Linked DNA regions of Homo sapiens: all the other regions are linked to region 2. The links are contacts of gene promoters, found by promoter capture Hi-C in human tissues and cell types (Jung and others, 2019). All regions are on one chromosome and are shown on one strand. The core of a region is centred on a gene start or on the middle of the fragment in contact, and the rest is flanking DNA. Distances in the headings are between cores, read along the strand shown. Region 1 overlaps NCOA1 (nuclear receptor coactivator 1). Region 2 holds the start of ITSN2 (intersectin 2). Region 3 overlaps NCOA1 (nuclear receptor coactivator 1).

Region 1 (4,751 bases), core at 1,239-3,738, 250 kb before region 2:
ACTGCAATATTTCAAGAGGGACACTGTTACAGCTGGAAGAACAAGTAAAAAAGAGAGAAAATGGATAGAGGTAAAAGGAAAACCAGCAGAAGTTGAGGTGGAGAGATCATAACGTTCAGTTTCGAGAAGGATTTTTGTACCTGCCAAAACAATCACAACAAACTCTTAGAAAAAAGTGCCCAAAGGTAATGAAGAGTCTGCTAAAATTTAAACCCCAATTAGGCATGAATACTCTTCTCTCAAAGGGCCCTGAAATTCAACATACCCCAACAACACCACAGTCATTGGAGCAACATGCTTTTATGTTCAACATTTCTACCATCCTCCCCAACTTCATACCATAAAGATGCAAACAAGTATTTGATGGTAAGTTTGTAGGACAGTATTATAAAGTCTCTTTTTGAGGGGTGGTGTCTAAAACTGTATCTCTCCATCCAAGGTTTTGGCTACTCCTAGTATACTAAGATTTGTCATCACAGTAAACATGTCTATGTTCACAATTTCGACCTCATTTTATAAACTTTCCAAAGTATCGCTTTCAGAATCAATTTTTTACAGACTGGATTTCATTTTTCCCTTCCTCTTTCTAGCCTCTGCTAAATCCTCAGGGATTAAGAGCTTAAGTCCCCTAACAACTGTTTTCCAATGTTTCCAAATACCCACACTAACTGCTCTACTTTCCTCAGTTCTAGTCAGGGACTGCTCATGTCCTGAGCAGGACTACAGTACATATAAAAAACTACAGTACTTCTAGGTAGGTGTCATACAGATATGCAAGTAGGAGATCAAAAGTGTACTCTTATATCAAGTCACACTCATCAGGTTACCAAAACATGCAGAACTGCTGCCTCTGTTTTGGGGGTATTTTTAAAGACCAACTTCATTTATTTTCCTATAATCCCCGATATCATTTTATCCATTACAACATCATCTTCCTTCCCCTAGACTCACATTCCTCCCCTTCCAAGAAATTCTTTATTCATTCCCTTTCACTTTTCCCAGTTTTGCCAAAAGAAATGGTATTTCTCTTGCATTTTTAATATGCTATTTTATTGGGAACATTGGAGAAAGATGGAAAGAAATCTCAACTATCAAATCCATACAAGAGCAACAAACGGTATCAAATTAAAACTATGTACTATGGTAACTATGTAACAAATTATTTTTCATCATCTGTGAAAAAGGATGGTAGGAAAAGGGAAATGTGCAAATAGCAGACACAACTCATGATGAAATTCACCCCACATACAAATCATCATTTCCATCCTCTGAAGGTTACTATTCCTTTGTTTCTCTTCTCTCTTCCTCTAATGTATAACCTAATGTGACAATGCTACCAAGTAACAAGCATGTAGACTCCAAAAAGTGCTATTTGATAGAAAATTCAGTATTACATATAAAGAGTGCCATTTTTATTTTACTTTGAAAAATTGTCTGCTTTAGTAAAAACTGAACCTAAAAGTAGGCTCTTAATATTCTAACACTGTCCTTATAAAAGTTTCCTAAGATCCCTGATCTTTTCATAAATGTTGGATGAATGGAACACCTTTGTAGTAATGACAAATTTCAGCCAGCCTTTACTTTTCCTCCTATCTGGACTTACTACTCTAATCCCTCACATTCTCATCCTCTTCCCTCTAGAAAGCCATTCCTCATCTGCAATGGTTTGGCTGAGTAACCCTCCTATGTGTCCTAGCATCTAACAAAAAAAGTAACTGTGTATGTATCTATCTGATTATATAGATAAGTTAACTGCAAGCTTCTTGAAAGCAGTGAGACTATGTCTCACTCACCGTTTTATCTCCAGAGCCTAGGACAATGCTTGGCACTTGTTAGATTCTCAACATTGACAGTCAGCATTGGCCCCCACCAGCACCATCGACCAGTACCCATCAGCTATTCCATCAACAACGTCCTAGACTAAGGCTTACTACAATCTCCTGCAGAGAAGCCAACATAACTTCTTAGAGGATTCCTTAAGTTCTGATACTAACCATCTACTGTGTGCCAAGCAATATATTACAGGTTCTATTTTATGTTATTTCTTCAAAAACCCCATGAAGTAAAAATAGTTATCCTCCTTTACCAACAAAATAATAAGAGGTCTGTGATAATTTACTTTCTCATAGCTACTAGTAACAAGCAGTTGAGCAGAGATTCATGCCTAAGTCTATCTGACTGTAAACTGAGGCCATTTCTACTGTGTTATTCTGCTTCCTCAATACCTACACAAAATCAACATAAATACATAATTTATCCAAATATATTTTTCTTGCTATATTCTGTAATGTCACAAACCCTTTGGGAATCAATAAAATTAACTCTGTGAATCACCTGGAAGACTGTAAAGATGGTAGGTTAAGATTACATGCTCTGGAATCAGAATGACTACTTGGATTCAAATAACAATTCTGCTACCCACTAGCTATATAAACTTGAATAATTCAATTTCTCTGTGCTTTGATTTGCTAATCTCTAAAATGGGAATACAAGTGGTAGCTATAGGATTCTTGTGAATAATAAATGACAAGATATGTGAAGGACTTAGAATGGAGCCTAGCATATAACAATATTAATACTAACAGCTAGAATTAGTGCATGCTTACAATATATGTTACCTTATTTTCAATAAACACTAGCTGTTATTATTTAATTATCTAAGTTTACATGAAGAAATAACTTTTTCTATGTCAGTGGTTCTCAGACTTGCAGTGCATCAGAATTATCTAGGAGGCTTTTAAACATACCCACAGGCCCTGCACCCTAGAGATTCTGACATGTAGGTGTGGTTGGGCTTTAGAAACTATTCTTTTGAAAATTTTCCAAGAGGATTCCCACTGCCTGAGATATGAGAATATGCTGGGCTAGAGATCTTAAAACATTTCTATTTTAAACGTCTGATATAAAGAATGAAAATGGGCTAGGTGCAATGACTCATACCTGTAATCCCAGCACTTTGCAAGGCCGAGGCAGGCAGATCACTTGAGCCCAGGAGTTCAAGAGTAGCCTGAACAACATGACAAAACCCTGTCTCTCCAAACAAAACAAAACAAAAACAAAAAAGTAGCCAGGTGTGGTGGTGTATACCTATAGTCCCAGCTACACAGGAGGTTGAGGTGGGAGGATCCCCTGACCCCAGGTGGTTGAGGCTGCATGCAGTCAGCTGTGATCACACCACTGTACTCCAGCCTGGATAACAGAATGAAACCCCATAGCAAAAAAAAAAAAAAAAAAAAAAAAAAAAAAAAGAATGGAAATGAATCGATACAATAGGCAGAAAAGCAAGTAATAAAGCTTCCAGATACTCCTGGGGCATATATGAATCCTAGTAACCTAGGGTTGGAAAGGATTGAGAAAAAAGTTTAGGCCTCTGAAAGTCAGGTAAGACACTATCAGACAAAGACAGGGCCCAAGAAGGACAATAACACCAGGAAAAGGGTAAATTCAAACATTAAAAACACCTTCAAAGGCAAACATCAAAGAAAACCTCTTGGCCTTAGCAAAGACATCATGAGGATTTGGTGCCTGAATCATCTATGCTATGTGAATACTCCTAAAACTCAAAAGTCGGGGTGCAGCAGGACCTTCTCTGCTTCACACCCAGGCAGATCTCCAGGTAACTGGAGCACCCATTCACCGGGATCAGCAGGCTAAGCCAGCCCACTCTCCCCATGCCAAGACCATGGTAAAGCAGGGCACTCTCTGCCCCATTCCCGGGCATAGCTTCAGGCAGTCAGAGGACCCATTTGCATGGATTGCTAGCCTGAGACACCCCATCCTTCCTGTGTAGAGATTGTGGTACAGCAGGGCCCTCTGTACGCAGCACCCAGGCAGATCTCCAGGTACCTGGAGTACCCACTCTCCTGGATTAAGAGTTCAGGCCTCCACCCCTGCCTGTGTAGAGAACTTGGGGCCAAGGAGGTTTGCCAGCTCCATGCCTAGGACCACCTCTGGGTGCTTGGTGGCTGCCCATTGGCTTCTCCCTCAGTGTTAGTGATTGTGCCTGCCATCAGGGGACTGTAGGTGGCCTGGCCCCACTCATCTTGCTTCCCACTCCCCTGGGGCTGAGCAAGTAGCTCAGACCACTGTGCACTCCACGTATCAGCCCAATGCCTGAGGCAACAGAGAGCTTCTTCCTGTAAACAAGTATCAAGTGTATACCTAGTCACACTGGCTACAGCTGGCTAAGTGATCTTACCCGTAAGCGCCATCTACTGGCTTGTAGGTTGAACCCTACAGCCCAATATAAAATCTGCCCAAAGAAGTACATAGGCTATAGAAGCAAAGCCAAAAGATGCTACCCAGCATTCTCTACAATCATATCCCCTAGGGAGTTGGGGAATGGAAAGGGAAAGAAAAAAAAAATATTACAGGGACAGGAACAAAAAAAGAAAAAAATCCTACCTGCATGAAAATAATTACAAAAATCAAAAGTGCCAGTGTCTCCAGATGAGAAGGAACCAGTGCAAGAATTCTGGCCAAACGAAAAATCTGATCGTAGTGACACCACTCAATAATCACACTAGCTCTCCAGCAATGGCCCCTAACCAAAATGGAAACTCAGATATGACAGATAAAGAATTCAAAGCATGAATTACAAGGAAGCTCACTGGGATCCAAAAAAAGGTTGAAAATCAACACAAAGAAACTTCTAAATCATTCTAAGAAATGAAGGAAGCGGTAAATACTTTAAAAAGAAGTCAATCAGAACTTCTGGAATTGAAAACTCACTTAAGGAATTTCAAAATATT
Region 2 (4,260 bases), core at 797-3,296:
ACTGGTGAAGGGTGCAATGGGAATGAGGCCACGTGCTCAAGATTGCTATCCTTGGCCTGGGTGGTTTGTTTGCAGATAAGGACAGATTGGCTGGTCCCCAGCAAGTGAGGGGCCTCCTAGACTGATAAAAGAGTCAGGCTTCTCTGTGTCACTGAAGCTCAGGACCTGTCTGTCAGGTCTTGGTCAGGTTCTAATCGAAGAGTTAGGAAAAACACTGAGTGTGAGAGCGGGAAAAGCCTGTTTATCATCATCGATGTTTGGTAAATTCCTCCTAAGCTGGCTGGCCAGTTCAGATAGGCCTGGGTTTGGAGCCATCTCACCTTCACCTGCCTCAACAGGTAAGGAATGAAAGGATGCCAGGGGTTATTTGATCTACACAGATCAAATCAAGGGATATGAGTTTTGGACCCCAGACCAGCCCTCACCCTGCTTCTAAAAGCCAAAATAAATCTTGGGTCTTGGCCGGGCGTGGTGGCTCACGCCAATCCCAGCACTTTGGGAGGATGAGGCGGGTGGATCACCTGAGGTCAGGAGTTTGAGACCAGCCTGGCCAACATGGTGAAACCAGTGTCTACTAAAAATACAAAAATTAGCCGGGCGTGGTGGCAAGTGCCTGTAATCCCAGGTACTTGGAAGGCTGAGGCAGGAGAATTGCTTGAACCTGGGAGGCGGAGGTTGCAGTGAGCACAGATCTCACAGTTGCGCCACTGCACTCCAGCCTGGGCAACGGAGTGAGAGTCTGTCTCAGGAAAAAAAAAAAAAAAAAAAAAAAAAAAAAAAGAAATCTTGGGTCTTATATCCAAAAATCTTGAGTCTTACATTTGGTTACTTTTTTTTTTTTGAGACAGAGTTTCGCTCTTGTCGCCCAGGCTGGAGTACAGTGGTGCAATCTCTGCTCACTGCAACCTCCGCCTCCCAGGTTCAAGCGATTCTCCTGCCTCAGCCTTCCGAGTAGCTGGGACTACAGGCGCCCGCCACCACGCCCAGCTAATTTTTGTATTGTTAGAAGAGGCGGGGTTTCACCATGTTGGCCAGGCTGGTCTCCAACTCCTGACCTCAGATGATCCACCTGCCTCGGCCTCCCAAAGTGCCGGGGTTACAAGCGTGAGCCACTGTGCCAGGCCGACATTTGGTTACGTTCATTAGGAAACACTAACTCCTCCCTCACCCCAATCAAAAGAAAGCCTTTCCCCTTGAAGAAGCTTCTTGTCAAGGGCAAACCTTTGGGGTTTTGGGATACGGTGGCGGCTTGAGTTGAAGTCTGGTCTTTTGTGAGGAGACCAGGAACCGGGAGGGGAGAAAAGAGACAAATTCTGAGTAGGAGCTTCGCCTGTCCCTTGGCGAGGGGTGGGGAGGAAAGTTTAGCTTCGTCGTGCTATGCTCTATGGGGACAGAGTCTTCCTACTGCTCGGCGGAGTGTGACTAGCGTAGAGGGTGCTCCTCGTGGGCGCTCCGCGTGTGTTATGGAGGAGGGCGAGGAATGGTGAATGGATGACCGAGGGTATGGTTAAGTCCTCCAGGTCCCTGAGAAGGGTTCAAGAGGCCTGTAACAGACCCATGGGCAAGGGTGGGATCAACCTCCTTCCCACCTTCCACCCCCCAATTCCCAGAGAATTCGTTCCCCCAGATCAGTGGAGAAAACTTCGGCGAGTGAGAAGGTTCCAGGGAGAACCCCGTGGTGGGTGCAACAGGGATGTGGCAGGCACTGCTTGGGACTTTCCAAAACCCCGGCGTCTGCCGTGGCAGGAAAAGCACCACCCAAGCTCAGCATGTTACCTCGGGGAGGAGGAGCCAGGTGGGTCTGTGCAACTCCAGGAAGGGCTGCCAGGTCTGGGGCTTCGGGGCCTCCCCGAGGGCAGAGAGGAGCGCTTCGGACCCGACCGACTCGGAGCAGACCTTCAGGGTTCAATGCCCCGGAACTCCTGGGGCGAGGAGCCACGCCCGGGCAGTTTCGGGCTCCGGAGGGTGGGGAGTCGGTGCCCGGCAGCGGGCGGGCCGTCAGCTGCCCGGCCCGGCGCCTACCTCCCCGCCCCCCGGCTTCCTGCGGAGGCCGCGGCCGCCATGTTGTTGTGGGGCTGAGGCGGCGCCGGCGGAGCCCTGAGCGGCTGTGACAGGCTACGCAACAGGTTCGCGGGCGGCGGCCTGACGACCAAGCCAGCTGCAGTGGCGGCGACGGCGGCAGAGCAGGGTCTCCCCGCGCCTGCCCGCGCCCAGGCTGCCGGTGCTGAGGGACGCGGAGTCGCGCTGTGACGAGCGGGAGGCGCGGCGAGGGCGCCAGGTGGGTGAAGCCGCTAGCGGGGCTGCAGCAAGGCGCGGGGCAGGTGCGGGCGCCGCGCCCGCTGCCCGGAGGCTCTGCGGGTCGGGCTGAGGCGGCTGTGCGCTCCGCACGATGGGGACGGGTCCTCGGGAGTACGGGCGGCCCCCGAGCTAGGCCCCTGGCGGGCTCGGCCGTGCGGGGCGGAAACCTCCGGCCCCGGGTTCCTTCCTCTGCTGCCGGGCCGGGACAGACGCCGAGGGGGCCTGGGCTGGGCTGCCCCTTCCTTGCGGCCGAGCCCGGGTCCCTGGCCGCGGCCTCGTCTGGCAGGTGGCGGACGCCGGCGAGGGTCGGGGGTGGCGTGGCCCCCTCGCTTTCGGGGTGTGAGCAGAAGAGAGCTCTGGGGGCACCCGCACGCCTCCTCGGGGACCCATTTTATTTTCGCGGAGTTGGTTTTCCTTCCTGGCAAGGGTTGGTGCCGAATGTCAGGTGAGCCGCATCCCGGTGCGTCAAAGTAGCCCGAGTCACGAGAGGACAGTGGGCGGATGCTTGGCGTCTACCGCTCGCGTTCCTCCGGAGTTGGAAATGTTAAATTTACCTTCAGCGTTATTGACTTCCAGAATATACAGGAAGCACCGAGAGATGTAATCTCTCAGGCCAGATAAAGTTTATTTGTGTATTTATTTATTTATTTTTAAAGACGTCTGCATATGCATAGTGAGTGGGTAAACCGAGGCTGAAACTGCAGATGGCTTTGTATTCTATAGAAAGATGCTCCGTTTGGATTTATTAATTATGCGCCTTGTCGCTCTAGAATTACCAATGGCAAGTGTGCTTTATTTGAAACTTGTGTTAATACTGAAATAGGAATATTTTTTGATGGAGCCAACCCCTTTACGATAGGAATTAAGGTTAGCATAGAAATGACTTGCTTTGCTCCATGCTTCTAGTTTGTCTCACTAGTGTTTGCTTGCTTACTCAGAAATAGGCAAGGTGTGACTTGAAATTTTACGTTGTTAGTGAGCTCAGTTTAGGTAGCATAGCTCTTGTAGTTTAAAGCTTCTTAAGCGTTTCGAAAAATTGCCTCTCTCCCTGTGCTGGTTTGCTATATTGTTAATCAGTGATAAAACCTAAAAGCTACCTAGAAACATCGCATAAAACATTTACGCGAATTAATAATGACGTCCTTCCAAATTTAAAGATACTGACAACTCTGATGTGTTTTCCTTTAGCTTTTTTTGGCTGTGCCTGTGACTCTCTTGTAATTTCAAAAGTAAATAAAGTGGATGTATTTTATGTTTTTGAAAACGTGGAAAAAATGTGCATTGCTGCTATTTTGATGTAATATTAATAAGCAGTTGAAAAGCTTGCATTTTTTCACCCTTCCATGCATTGATAACTATTCCCTGTGCCCACCTTTGTAATGAAAGGTAAACTCGTCCAAGAAAACTTGACCTGTACAGAATTACTAAGCAGGGAGTTACCATTGTTCGGTACATCTCAAGGCTAAAATCTTGATCTCTCCTGAATATGAGGAGGTGTGTTAGGCATGTTTTGGGGATTGGATTAATAGTGTTAAAAAATTTGTATTTTCACAAAAATAGCATGTACCCATCACCCAAACTCAGCAGCTTTCAAGAAGCTTTTCTTTTTTTCTTTCTTATTTTAAAAAATCCTTTAACCTTATGTAGTTAGTATATCTTTTTTAAAAAGTAGAAAATCATGTAACCTTAGGATTTTTAGTTTTAATGTAGAGTTTCACAAATTTCCATCTTTAGTAAGACAAAAGGGTCACATATTGGCTGTCTCCTTCAACTATACTTTCTTCAGTATAAAATATGTTTACCATGGTTGTCATTTATCGAGCACGTAACTGCATGTTAGACTCTATGCTAAGTGTTTTACATAATCATTTAAAGCTCACTAAGGCCCTAGGAGTAATTATTATCTTCCCATCAAAAAGGTAAGTGAAATGTTAACCTGAAGTTTGACTACTTTAGGTCTCT
Region 3 (4,729 bases), core at 872-3,371, 140 kb before region 2:
TTAAGAACTTACCCTATTATCTCAAAGGGGCAGATTAAGTGTGTTTATTTGCTAGGTAACATAGCACTTATAGCCACGTTTCACAAAAAGGACCAACAAACTTGGGACATTTGTCTTTTTGTGAAAAAATACTGAGTAAGTCATCTTTAAGTTAGATCATTCTTAACTCCTCTGCCTCAAGGTGACCACTTAATCTCTATGAAATGGTATTAAAAAGATCTGCATAAGTGATCTCTACTGCAATACAAAATAGTGTTGAGTCTACTATTTAAAATAATAAACCTAAAAATCCAGTTACCCAAGCCCCTGTAAACTACAAACCACCACAACAGACTGAAAGAGAAGAAACATCTTCACAGACCTCTAGTATTTCTTCCATTTTGCGGATAATTTAATGTTAAGAAACTACTGGCCAGGCGCGGTGGCTCACGCCTGTAATCCCAGCACTTTGGGAGGCCAAGGCGGGCGGATCACCCGAGGTTGGGAGTTCAAGACCAGCTTGACCAACATGGAGAAACCCCGTCTCCACTAAAAATACAAAATTAGCCAGGCATGGTGGCACATGCCTGTAATCCCAGCTACTAGGGAATCTGAGGCAGGAGAATCACTTGAACCTGGGAGGTGGAGGTTGCAGTGAGCCGAGATCGCGCCATTGCACTCCAGCCTGGGCGACAAGAGCGAAACTCCTTCTCAAAAAAAAAGAAAGAAAGAAAGAAAAAAAGAAACTACCGGGCTAAAAGTGCCTGGGGTCCCAAGAGTTAAGGCTCTTTATCAGCCTACCCAGCAGGGATACTTGAAGGGATACTTCCAGCCAATTTCTGTTGTATGCTATCAAGGTTTAAAGGACTTATCTTTAAAGGTACCCCAATTACACTGTATCATCTCTGAATTACTACCAGTTTGGCAAAAGACACACCACAGCACATTCAGTGACACTAGTTGTCTTCAACACTGTTCCCTCCGTGTAACGAGTAACGTTGGCTAGGGGCATCAGTCAAATAATAGACAGGGCTGGAACAAGGTCCAAGACTCCTCAAGACACATCCTGCCTTAAATCCTTTTTGGAACATGGCAAGGCATAAATAAATCAGTAAAATAAATCATGAACTATAAATGAGAGCCAGGGGCTTCCAACTTGTATGACCAATCTCATTTATACAGTCAGATACACTTATATTTATACAAAGAGACATTTTTACACCGAACAAACAAGTCCACTGCATCATCTTAAAAAATGCCAAGTGATAATACACTGTTTAAAAGAATACTTACTGCTTAAAAAAAAAAGTCAATGGTATGAAATAGAAGATAAAATGGAAAAGAAGTACACTAAGAACAATATAAAGCACATTTAGAGGGCATGAAATTAGATCTGATAAACAAAGGGCCATAGAACAATGCTGGAGGAATGTTGGAATATTGCAATCCTGGTTGGTCCAAAATTCATCTATATATTTAATAAACTCAAATCAACATCTAAGAATCACTGGGAGGTTAAAATTTTTTTTTAAGGTTGATGGCAGGATTTTCCTTATCAGTAACAATATATAAAACAGTAAGGAACTGCCACATATTAAATAGATGTATCTATTTTTGGAATAAAGAAATGCAGAATCAGAAAAAAGGGAGTATAGAAACATCAAAATGTAGACTTCAAAATAGTAGGGAATTATTAAAATGAATATGTTAATAAATTATGTTGGATCAACTGGCTAACTCTTGGGCAAGTATCATGCAATATGCATATCTCATATCACATGTAGGTTAAGGCATAATTCATAATCAAAAGTAAAAAACAAAAAAGTTAATTCGAAAAAAGTATAAGGCAGTGAAAAAGATTTTGTACCAACTTCTATTCAAAAAAAAAACCATATAATCTGTGTTTAAATATACATAAAAATGAGTGAATAAGTTCCCAATGTGGGTAAGCCTTACATATGGAATCATTTCAAAAACAAAAAATATGAAATTTGGGGTATAAAACCTGCCAAGAAAAGATCCACGTAAATTTGGAAAATTGACATTTCTCATTTTCATCCATATCTACATACTTACTACATACTGCTCCCCACCACCTCCCTCCATTAAAATCCACCAATGTTTTCTTACTACACCTAGACGATATGCTTCCCTCTCCCACTTCAGCTGATGCCACACTCCTTGCACTTTCCCCTGCATTACTCCGTCTTTTCATCTTTGCTATTTAATCTTCCTGAACATACTGTTCTCCTTGTCTCTATTCTTAAAGAAATCATCCCCTGCCCTCAATGCTTTTGTCTACCACCAAGTCCTCCATAAAACTTGCCCTGATTTTTCTCAAATGAAAATACAATAATCATTCCCTCTCCCTGAATGTTCAAAGCACTGTTTCAGGACCTGTCTCACAGCACTCATCACATTCAATTACTATTATAGGTATTTGTATGTTTGTCTTATCACCTCTCTCAGGTCATAATCTGCTTAAGAACAGGATCTATATTTTATCGGTTAATTTCCCAATAACCACTATCTTTTTACAGCACAGCACCTTGAACAAAGTACGTACTCATATAACTACGTCTTGACCGAATGATTGAGTAGCTACTTAGAAATTCAATTACAGACTACCTGTACCATTTAGAATGGAGAGGGAGATATTAGACATTGCAGAACAAATAACTTTTTGTTTCTTACAAACAAATTCACCAAAGTAAAGTCAATATTACACATACAGATGTTTTCAAAACTCAAGGACATTTCATCCTTCAACTATCTGGTCAAATATGATGTGATATGTTTATATACATACATACATTCACAATAGAATACCTACTGTTAAATAATCAAATCTATGCTTGATAATAAAAGTATGTAAATGTTTTAACTATATAGGCAAACTGGAATTTTAAGATAAAATCAACCATTCAAATTACAAGTGGAAACACAGAGAATGACCAAGCAATTTGTTCCAAAAAAATAAAAACAAAACCAAACCACACTAAGCTTTAGCTATTTAAATACCAACAAAACTTGAGAGGCAGAATTTTATGGCTAAGAATCCAAAACCAACCAAAGATAACCTTACCTGGATAGAAGCACCAAAGAATCAACATTACTGAAGTACAAAGGTGAGACCAGAAACAGCACAAGAATCTTTTTTTTTTTTTGAGATGGAGTCTCGCTCTGTCACCCAGGCTGGAGTGCAATGGCGCGATCTCGGCTCACTGCAACCTCCGCCTCCCTGGTTCAAGCAATTCTTCTGCCTCAGCCTCCTGAGTAGCTGGGACTACAGGCTTGCGCCACCACACCCGGCTATTTTTTGTATTTTTAGTAGAGACAGGGTGTCACCATATTGGCCAGGTCTCGAACTCCTGACCTCATGATCTGCCTGCCTTGGTCTCTGAAAGTGCTGGGATTACAGATGTGAGCCACCACGCCCAGCCCACAAGAATCTTAAAGTGACATTTTCATCAAGTAACTGGTATATATGGCTCCCGGGTCATCAGAAAGGAACAAGACTGCAGGAGTCTCCACAACACAGGTATTCAAGAGAAAGAAAGTCCAGAAAGAAAAAAAAAAAAGTATAATGTGGCCAAGTGTGACGAACATGCTTGAAGAGAAGCCAATTGAAAGGTATGAATATGATTTCCACTCAGTAGGCTTGAACTCAAATGTCATCCCTAACACCTATAAGCTGTGCAATCTTACGCCAGCCACTTAACTTCCCTGAGCCTTGTTTCCTCATTTATAAAATGTAATATGTAGAGCTAGCACAGTACCTGGCTCAGAGACAACACTCAATAAATATTTGCTGACTATGAATGAGGGCCTTACAAGAAAAGCAGACGTTTTTCTACAGGTACTTTTGTAGTTTTTGAGAAAACGGTCTTAATTAATTCCTAATTAATACCTTTTTACAATATTTGAGAGTCATATTTTGGTCAAAAAATAAAAATGCTCCTTTCCTCCTAGCTTACACATTACTCAAAAGCTTACAGGAATTCTTATTATTTAAAATATCTTTGTAATATTGTAACTTTAAATACAAAAAGTAACTCTCATAAAGAAACCCTATTCCCAACTACATCTGCATGGACTTAGTCTGCTCAGCTGTAATATTAAGAAGGCTGTCCTAAATGATCATTTAAGGCTCTTTAACTCTAAATGTTGTAGTTCCTGGCATCTCAAGCGTTTTCCAATCTGTTTAGGAAAACCAATCAACACACACTAAAAAGAGAATCTCTCTCAAAAGAAAGAGAGAGAAAGAGAAGTTTATTATACAGAACAGAGTACCTAATGCTAAGGGAGTGATAAAAATCAAGCTTTCTTGAAAACATACCAGCTTTGATGCTGTTTTTGAAGGTCACGAGAACATAAAGGAAATCCAATTTAAATGAAGAAAATGGAACATGTAAAAGCAAAGACGCAAGATATCTATGATTATCATAATACTTTCTTCATTGCGTAGCACTTTACAGTTTGCGAAGTATTTCTGCATATGCCATCTACAGCAAATTTTCTGGAATGGGAAATGAAAGAATCAGTTTAAATGATTTACATTTGATAAATTTGCCCACAGAAAATCTCCTCTGAAAACAATAACATAAAAAAATTTTTTTAGAAGGGAATTTCTTCAGCATTATGTGTAGGACAAATTAGAGAGGTAAATGCATGCAAGCAAACAGCTATAAACCTACAAATCACAGAATTTTAAAACAAGAAGAAATGTGAAATTAGACCAACATGCTCA

What was found. The method cuts DNA at HindIII sites, captures the fragments that hold promoters and counts their contacts. A contact is called where the count stands out against the background at its distance.
Region 1: a fragment that was not itself captured here is called in contact with the fragment with the promoter of ITSN2 in region 2 in 2 of the 25 tissues and cell types used here (psoas muscle and spleen).
Region 3: a contact is called between a fragment that was not itself captured here and the fragment with the promoter of ITSN2 in region 2, in 3 of the 25 tissues and cell types used here (dorsolateral prefrontal cortex, spleen and thymus).

Annotation. Positions count from the first base shown.
Region 1 is chr2:24,612,697-24,617,447 of GRCh38, reverse strand. All of the region lies in intron 3 of NCOA1 (nuclear receptor coactivator 1), which reads right to left. Among named protein-coding and RNA genes, the nearest start is that of NCOA1, 120 kb to the right of the region's middle. RefSeq lists an enhancer at 4,053-4,102. The HindIII fragment of the contact is 5,058 bases long and covers 1-4,751 here.
Region 2 is chr2:24,358,322-24,362,581 of GRCh38, reverse strand. ITSN2 (intersectin 2) reads left to right here and starts at 2,046. Exons shown (of 40, transcript NM_006277.3): 1 at 2,046-2,278. RefSeq lists an enhancer at 1,613-1,762 and silencers at 1,863-2,162, 2,173-2,222, 2,233-2,632. The HindIII fragment of the contact is 6,107 bases long and covers 1-3,467 here.
Region 3 is chr2:24,496,089-24,500,817 of GRCh38, reverse strand. The region is part of intron 1 of NCOA1 (nuclear receptor coactivator 1); the gene reads right to left. Among named protein-coding and RNA genes, the nearest start is that of NCOA1, 7.2 kb to the right of the region's middle. The HindIII fragment of the contact is 5,514 bases long and covers 1-4,729 here.